Linked DNA regions of Homo sapiens: region 1 is linked to region 2. Evidence: promoter capture Hi-C in 16 types of primary human blood cells and fetal thymus (Javierre and others, 2016). All regions are on one chromosome and are shown on one strand. Each heading gives the region's core, a stretch centred on a gene start or on the middle of the fragment in contact. The rest is flanking DNA. Distances are from core to core; before and after follow the strand shown. Region 1 overlaps FDX1 (ferredoxin 1). Region 2 holds the start of FDXACB1 (ferredoxin-fold anticodon binding domain containing 1).

Evidence for each region. Contacts are between HindIII fragments. The CHiCAGO score rates a contact against its expected background, and 5 or more counts as called.
Region 1: a contact is called between a fragment that was not itself captured here and the fragment with the promoter of FDXACB1 in region 2, in 3 of 17 cell types (naive B cells, naive CD8 T cells and total B cells). The highest score is 10.3, in naive B cells.

What each region holds. Positions count from the first base shown.
Region 1 is chr11:110,431,582-110,435,685 of GRCh38, reverse strand. The region is part of intron 1 of FDX1 (ferredoxin 1); the gene reads right to left. Among named protein-coding and RNA genes, the nearest start is that of FDX1, 3.7 kb to the right of the region's middle. The HindIII fragment of the contact is 2,203 bases long and covers 149-2,351 here.
Region 2 is chr11:111,876,111-111,880,457 of GRCh38, reverse strand. It overlaps FDXACB1 (ferredoxin-fold anticodon binding domain containing 1), which reads left to right and starts at 1,293. Exons shown (of 5, transcript NM_138378.3): 1 at 1,293-1,497; 2 at 1,746-1,902; 3 at 3,447-3,650; 4 at 3,819-3,977. The coding sequence starts at 1,326. CFAP68 (cilia and flagella associated protein 68) reads right to left here and starts at 917. Exons shown (of 4, transcript NM_022761.3): 1 at 853-917. The coding sequence starts at 897. RefSeq lists enhancers at 1,040-1,509, 1,006-1,625. The HindIII fragment of the contact is 2,066 bases long and covers 511-2,576 here.

The sequences.
Region 1 (4,104 bases), core at 1-2,500, 1.4 Mb after region 2:
TGTAGTGACGGGGTGCCACCATGTTGCTCAAGCTGGTCTCAAATTCCTGGCCTCAAGCCATCTTCTCAACTTGGCCTCCTAAAACTCTGAGATTACAGGCCTGAGCCACCATGCCTAGCCGAAGGTATTTTCTTTTCTTTCCAAAGCTTATTTGGAAATCAAAGGCATATATATCTACCCACCTACCAGGTAATAAGCTCTACTACCTTACAGGAAATGGCAATGACTACCTGGTCAACGCCACCTGGTGGCCTCAGTATATGTCTCCCTAATAGTCACAGTTATAAAACATTTGGCAATTATTATCACTCATGAACTCTATTTTACTCTCATACAAGCCAGTGCAGTAGCTTGCACCTGTAACCCCAGTACTTCGAGAAGCTGAAGTGGGAAGATTGTTTGACGCCAGAAGTTTGAGACCAGCCTGGGCAACATGGCAAGATCCCATCTTTACAAAAAATAAAATAATTAGCCAGGTGTGGTGATGTGATCTGTAGTCCCAGCTAATTGGGAGGCTGAAACGGGAGGATCCCTTGAGCCCAGGAGGAGGAAGAGGCTGCAATGGGATATGATTGCACCACTGCACTCCAGCCTGGGCAACACAGCAAGACCCTGTCATTTAAAAAAGAAAAGGCCAAGTGTGGTGGCTCATACCTGTACTCCTAGCACTTTGGGAGGCCGAGGCAGGGGACTGCTTGAGCCCAGGAGTTTGAGACCAGCCTGAGCAACACAGAGAGACCCTATTGCTACAAAAAATAAAAATAAAAATGAGATGGTTGTAGGTGTATGAAAAATAAAAGGCATGGTGGTATTTGCCCATAGTACCAGCTACTCATGGGGCTGAGGTGGATCACCCGATCCCAGAAGTTCAGGGCTGCAGTGAGCCGTGATTACACCATTGCACTCTAACCTGGGCAACAGCTCAAGGCCCTGTCTCAAAAAAAAAAAAAAAAAAAAAAACAAAAAAAGTCATCACACAGCTCTCTGAAAAACATGAATGTGTCCATAAAAGACTAGACCAGGGTTGTAGTGAGCTTCTAAAAAGCAAATCATGGCCGAGCATGGTGACTCACGCCTGTAATTCCAACACTTTGGGAGGCCAAGGCGGGCGGATTACCTGAGGTCAGAAGTTCAAGACCAGCCTGGCCAACATGGCGAAACCCCGTCTCTACTAAAAATACAAAAATTAGGCATGGTGGTACATGCCTGTAATCCCAGCTACTCGGGAGGCTGAGGCAGGAGAATCGCTTGAACCCGGAAGGCAGAGGTTGCAGTGAGCCGAGATCAAACCACTGCACTCCAGCCCGGGTGGCAGAGTGAAACTCTGTCTCCAAAAAAAAAAAAAAAAAAATCAATAGGGCGATTGCTTTTCCAGTGCTACATAGAATACTACTGCTGAGAGATGTTGTTTAGTAGTTTTCTGCGTATTTGACATCTCATTTCAGTCCACATTGTATACTTACAAATCAAAGGGACTAGAAAAAGTTTATTTGTTTGAATCTGTAAGATAAATACCTCCTTACATGTTTTTTTAAGATAGTATGTTAACTATCAGCTAGCTGACTTAAATTTCCTTCACTTCTCACAAACATCCCTCCAAAATTTGAGAAGCCATTATACTAAAAACTAGATCCTTATTCCTCCACCATTGGTCATTTTAATTTTTACCTCACACTTGAAAAGATTCTCTTCAACTTAAAATAATGAGTTGTTATTCTTATTACTACCAGTAGATGGCAATAGCCCATCAAACAAATCTTTAAGTAAAACTCAGAATTAAATAATTTCAGAGCCATAACTATCTCGAAAGTTATCAAGTCCAGTGATCCCATTTCACAAATGAGGCAACTGAAGCCCCACTGGGATAATGCCCTCCCTAATATTATAACACTGGGAAAAAAAACAGGATTCTATTCATTAAAACTCATCAAAAGGGTGTGTGTGTGTGTACCAGAATGTTCCTCAAAAGGGCCTGCGCTCTCCAACTTCTTTTCACAGCCAAAACATGCTTTAAAACTAGTATTCCCACATATTATTCATAATTTTCAACATGAATAACTGCCATTTTTTTCAAAGTACAATGGCTGAGAATGAAAATACCCTAGAGGCAGGGAGGCCACTTTGGAGGTTATCAAAACAGCATAAACTAATCAGGGACAGAGAATGCAGTGACTTAACAGACATCCAGGAGGTAGACCAAAAGGTTTTAGTGACCATCTACATAAGATAAACTGAAAAGCGGAAAGAAAAACATTGGGATTTCCAGCTCACACAATTAGGTGGTACCATTTAACCTAGGTTTAAGACAGGAACCAAAGGAACTTTGGGGAAGACAGAAATAAGTTGAAGCTTAGACCTGCTGAATTTAATAATGAAAAAGCCAGATGAGAATGTCCAAACACCAGATGGCAATATGGGTATGGGTCTGAGCCCAGCAGAGAAGTCTAGAGATTTGACATCAACGAATGCCTGGTAGCTAAAGCTACAGGAAGCACATTAGAAAGAATTCCATCATTTATACACACTACTGAAAGCCAGAGGTTTCAGCGTTGCTGTTCTTCTGAAGCACTCTAGAGCTAAGCTTACAGCAAAGGAATTCGAAATCTCTTACATCAGCCTCCTCTTCTATAAAATTGGACAACATTAATCTTATAGTTCTGACAATGTATGCAAAATACGTAACACATAGTAGAATTCAACACACACTGATTAATAACTGTTATTTAAAGACCAAGCCCTTTTGCTAAGAAGCCCAACCTGTTGGTCTGTATTAAAGGTAAACAGCCCTACAAAAAACTGCCAAGTAAGAGTATTAACAGGTTTACCAAAGAAGAGGAGAGGAGGCGGAAACGAAAGAAAAATGTAATTCTTAAGTTGAAAGAGTATGGAACCTAAGAGTCAGAAGATGTAGACCCTATGCTGGGAGTGGTCACTCACGCCTGTAATCCCAATACTTTGGGAGGCTGAAGCAGGCAGATTACTTGAGGCCAGGGGTTCCAGACCAGGCTGGTCAACATAGTGAAATCTCATCTCTACTAAAACTACAAAACTTAGCCGAGTGTGGTGGCACGCGCCTGTAATCCCAGATATTCGGGTGGCTGAGGCACGAGAATCGCTTGAACCTGGGAGGTGTAGGCTGCAGTGAGCCATGATGGCACCACTGCACTCAGGTGAAGAGTACACCAACACCTCCAAAATCACCACTAAAGAACTAACCCATTAACCAAACACCACCTGTGCCCCCAAAACTACTGAAATTTTAAAAATAAATAGAAATTTAAAATTTTTTTAAAATCCGCAAAAACTTCTTGAGTTCTAGTCCTAGTTTTGCCAGCTACTTAATATGAAATTTTTATTCCCATTTATCTACCCTCCCTACCTCATAGAATTGTCTTAAGAGTCATACGAAACAATACACGTGAAAGATCTTTGCTACCTGAATCACTGCAAACCCCCTTGTGTCACGGTATTTTAGAGTAAAAGGAGTTTTTCTGACTCTCAATTACTGATAGCTTATCGAGTTGTTAAACTTCAAAGACAGAACTACAGTTTCTAGAACTGCTCTGTCTGTCTATAAGAACTTTGTGCCATAACAAAGATGTTCTACACATACTTGCAATGTCCAATACAGTAGCCACTAGCCACATGTGGCTACTGAGAACTCGAAATGTGGCTAGTGTAACTACGAGATTGAATCTTTAATTTTATTTACCTTTAATTATGTTAAACTTCAATAGCCACATGTGATTAGTAGTTACGGTAGTTACAGCACAAGTCTCATTAACACAGTAAGAACTGGAAAATCCAGTTGTAGCTCCAAAGTCTGTAAGAGGAATGATAAGACCATGAATAGAAATTGTGCCAATAAAGAGGGCAGCAGGATTATGAGGAAATAGACGTGCTCCCCTTTAAAACAACCTGACATATCCAAATCCAAAAAACAAATCTGAGAAAGATAACTCCCAATTACTACAAAAACATTCATGTTCCCTTATACCAGTTACACAAGCATGTTCAATATCTGTCCCAATTGATTCAGTTGTCCAAAACTCATCCATTGTATAACAGAAAGCAAGGTACCCACACTGGTCAAAGACAGGGGGG
Region 2 (4,347 bases), core at 44-2,543:
CAACCCGTTTTATCAGCAAGGTCTTTATGACCTGTATCTTGTGCTGAGCTATCTCATCCTGTGACTAAGAATGCCTTAACTTACTGGGAATGCAGCCCAGGTCTTAGCCTTATTTACCTAGCCCCTATTCAAGACGGAGTTGCTCTGGTATAAATACCTCTGACATTCTCACTTATAAGTGGGAGCTAAACATTGAGCAAACATGGACCTAAACATGGAAACAACACACACTCCAGGCTACTAACTAGAGTGGGGAGGGCGGGTGGTGTGGGTTGAAAAACTATTAGGTGCAATATACCCATGTAGCAAACCTGCAACCTACCTGGGTGCAATATATCCACGTAACAAACCTGTACCTGTACCCCCATTTGTAAAATAAAAGTTGATTTTTTTTAAAGGCTTACAACGCTCCCTATGACCTGGCCCCTGCCTAACTCTTCAGTCTCATCTGTTACTCTCCCTCCAATTGTGTTTCAGCCAAACTCAACTATTCTGTTTCTCCATCAAGCTTTTGCATATATTGTTCCTTCTGCCTCTTCACGCCTCTTGACTCAGTTAAGATGCACTTTTACCCTGTTAGCTTTCAACTCGGGTTTACTTCATCCAAGGACTCTCTGACCCTCTTCGCCCCCAAACTTGGTAACGTTCTTCTGTGTGCTCCCAGAGCACACACCCTGCCATATCAGAGTTGCCTGTTTTGCTCTGTGCATTCCCCACCAGACTGCAGGCTCATTGAAATCATAGGCCACATTTTGTTCATCCACATATCGTAACCACCCTCACAGTGGCCTGGCACGCAATAGACACTCAATACTCTTTCTTGAACGAATAGAAGATAGGAGATTTAAGCACCTGGAAGAGAAATTTTGAGCAGCAGAGACACTGGGAGGCAGCCATTTCAGACGAGGTGAAAAAAGGTTCAAAACCTTCTGCGTCAGGAGCATGCGAGACACAGTCCAACCTCTTCCTTGGCCTCAGCCCCGCCCCGTTTCTTTCACCCAGAACTCGCCTCACCCCCCTGCGCTAGTGACTGCTTGTGACCTCATGCAGGTGTGATGAAGTCGCTCAAGGCCATGCTTGGGCTAAAGACACTTTGATCTTCCCGAGGGGGTGAAAGGGCGAGGTGACAGGAAAGTGCGCGTCTTGCTTTTGCACTCATAGTTATCATCCACCGGGGAGTCGGTACACCGGCTCGTCTAGACAACCAGGCGCCATGGGTGCGTCATCAACTAGTGACGGGAGAAGACGGGGCGGAGAGAGATCCGTGAAGGAAGTGACGTAAAACGAGCGCCACAGAGAACGCGAGCCGGGAGTCCGTGGAGGCCATGGCCCCTCGGCGCCTCCTGTTGGTTGGGGAGGGGAATTTCTCCTTCGCCGCCGCTCTGAGCGAAACCCTGGATCAGAGCACTCAACTTACCGCCACCTGCCTCCAGCGCCCGGCCGAGTTGGCTCGGGATCCACTGGCCTGGGAGAATCTGCAGTGCCTGCGCGAGCGAGGTAGCGAGCCCGCCCCTCTGCGAAACCCCGCCCAGCGGCCGGCGCGTCCCAAAGTGGAAAGGGTGGGGGCGTGGGGATGTAACCCACGTGGAGATTGTTCTTGATCGTCCCACGGATATTCACATAAAGCCGGCTTTGTGCCCAGACTTGGGCTGGTCTGCACGGTTTAAGTTAGGAAGAGTTTTTCTGTTCCATGTCTTGAGGCATCCTCCTGTCTATATTTTGCGCCCCCAAACTATCTTTGCCAGGTATCGATGTACGTTTCGGTGTGGACTGCACCCAGCTGGCAGATGTCTTTGAACTGCACGAGAGAGAATTTGATCAAATTTATTTCATCTTCCCGCATTGTGGACGCAAAGCTGGCGTAGCTAAGAACAGGGAACTGCTTGCCAAATTTTTCCAAAGGTGAGGAAAGGAGCGCCCTCACAAGGAAAATGTTTAAGATGTCCATAACATAGTTACTGTACCCAAACATAAGGCACACGTGCAAGCTACTATGATATGTTTAGAAGAGACTATAAAGCCCCAAAGGAACCCCAAGTTTAGTTGGAAAGACAGATATATAAACCCTAAATGCTAAATGAAAGTACAAATAATGTACTCTTGGGTGTGTAAAAGAGGATCATTTATTTTTGACAGTGCAAAATAATGAGAGCCATATAGTCTAATGGCTAAGAACGTGCACTTAGAAGCCAGACTGCCTGGATTCAAATCCCAGCCCACCACTTAACAGTTGTTATTTTTTTATTTTTATTTATTTTTATTTTTTGAGACAGAGTCTCGCCCTGTCGCCCAGGCTGGAGTGCAGTGGTGTGGTGCAATCTCGGCTCACTGCAAGCTCCGCCTACTGGGTTCACGCCATTCTCCTGCCTCAGCCTCCCAAGTAGCTGGGAGTACAGGCGCCCGCCACCACGCCCAGCTAATTTTTTGTATTTTTAGTAGAGATGGGGTTTCACCGTGTTAGCCAGGATGGTGTCGATCTCCTGACCTTGTGATCCGCCTGCCTTGGCCTCCTAAAGTGCTGGGATTACAGGCATGAGCCACCACGCCCGGCCAACAGTTGTTATTTTAAGCAAGCTTACTTAATCTTTACATGCTTCCGTTTCCTCAACTGTAAACTAGGGATATTAATAGTAACTAACTGGGCCAGGCGTGGTGGCTCATGCCTGTAATCCCAGCAGTTTGGGAGGCCGAGGTGAGCAGATCACCTGAGGTCAGGAGTTTGAGACCAGCCTGGCCAAAGTGGCAAAACCCCGCCTCTACTAAAAATATAAAAATTAGCTGGCCGTGCTGGCACGTGCCTGTAGTCCCAGGTACTTGGGAGGCTGAGGCAGGAGAATCGCTTGAACTTGGGAGGTGGAGGTTGCAGTGAGCTGAGATCGTGCCACTGCACTCCAGCCTGGGCGACAGAGCAAGACTCCATCTCAAAAAAAAAAAAAAAAAAAAAAGTAACTAACAGCCTCATAAAATTATTGTGAACTGAAAACAGTGCTTTACATGATTATACCACAAGACATGATACTATTGGAGGTGTCCGATGGGGCATAGCTGTCAATAAAGTTTTGACAGAGGTGGTATTTTAAACTAGTATTTGAATTTCAGGAGGGCAGTGAAAAGAACTTTCTAAATGGGAAGAAACAGCCTAAGCAATGAATCATATATAGGAACTGTGCAGATATTGATCTTTCTGTGACATATGCATGAATGACACAAATGCAAAGCAGACCCTGGTCAGCCAATCTTATCAGTGAGTGGGTTGAACATTTAATTTATGCTTCTATTTACTTCCAGCTACTTTCTTTGCATTTTTTGAGGTCTAATAGATTTTTGCACATAGGTATGATTGGATTTTAATTATTTCACAGGCAAACCATGTGTATGTTGCCAACTCCTGTGGTAATTTCTGCTTGTTTATGATAATTAGTTAGTGTTTCTTTTCTCCCTATTAGCTGTGCAGACGTTCTTGCAGAGGAAGGAGAAGTCCACGTGGCATTATGTAGAGGACAAGGTGGAACTCCTGCGGATAAGCCCCAGAGAGAATGGCACAACAGTTGGCAAGTGGTTGCCATGGCAGCCCTGGGGGGGCTCATTTTAAGCGACGTGTATCCATTCAGCTGTAAGGCTGTGGCAGGGTACAAGTGCACTGGATATAGGTAGGTAATAGCATAGGTTTAAGCCTTCTGCGTTTTCATCTCTCTCACTAATGATAACAAAATCTCATAGACAGACTCAATAGGCCCTGCCAATTAATTGATTCGGTCTCTAAAAATACTTGCTTATTTTAATAATGACAGACTTCATATTGGTGTCTATTTTGCCAGGAGTCAAGATAAGTCCTTTCATGTAGAAGGTGCTTTGAACCATATCTTCACCAGGAGCTTACCTTTTGAAGGTTCTCAACCCAGAATCTTCAGGATCAAACTGGGTAACCAGTGGTTTTCCTTTCCAGAACCAGAAGCACTTGTAGGAAAGTTGAACAGGTAACCAGTTATTTTGCTGGAAATCACTTCCATCTCCAGTTGTATCCTGATTGTCTTGATGGCAACCATATATTGAATGGATGGTGCATAAATTGTTAGTGATGTTGGTGCTATGTTTATTTGTCAGCCTGGCCTCCTTAAGCATCTCTAGAATTATAAATGGTCACATTTTCTGATATATTGTAGGGATGGTGGCTGTCAGAGTTCTGAAATACACGTCTGTTTCTCCTTATGGTAGATGATTTCTTTGTTTCCTTTCAAGATCAATTTAAAGATAATTCTTTTCTGTCCAGCTATTTGTATTTTTAATTCTAGCTACATTATAATTATTTACTATCTTAAGTTAGAAAAGTTATTTTTGTGTGTGTTT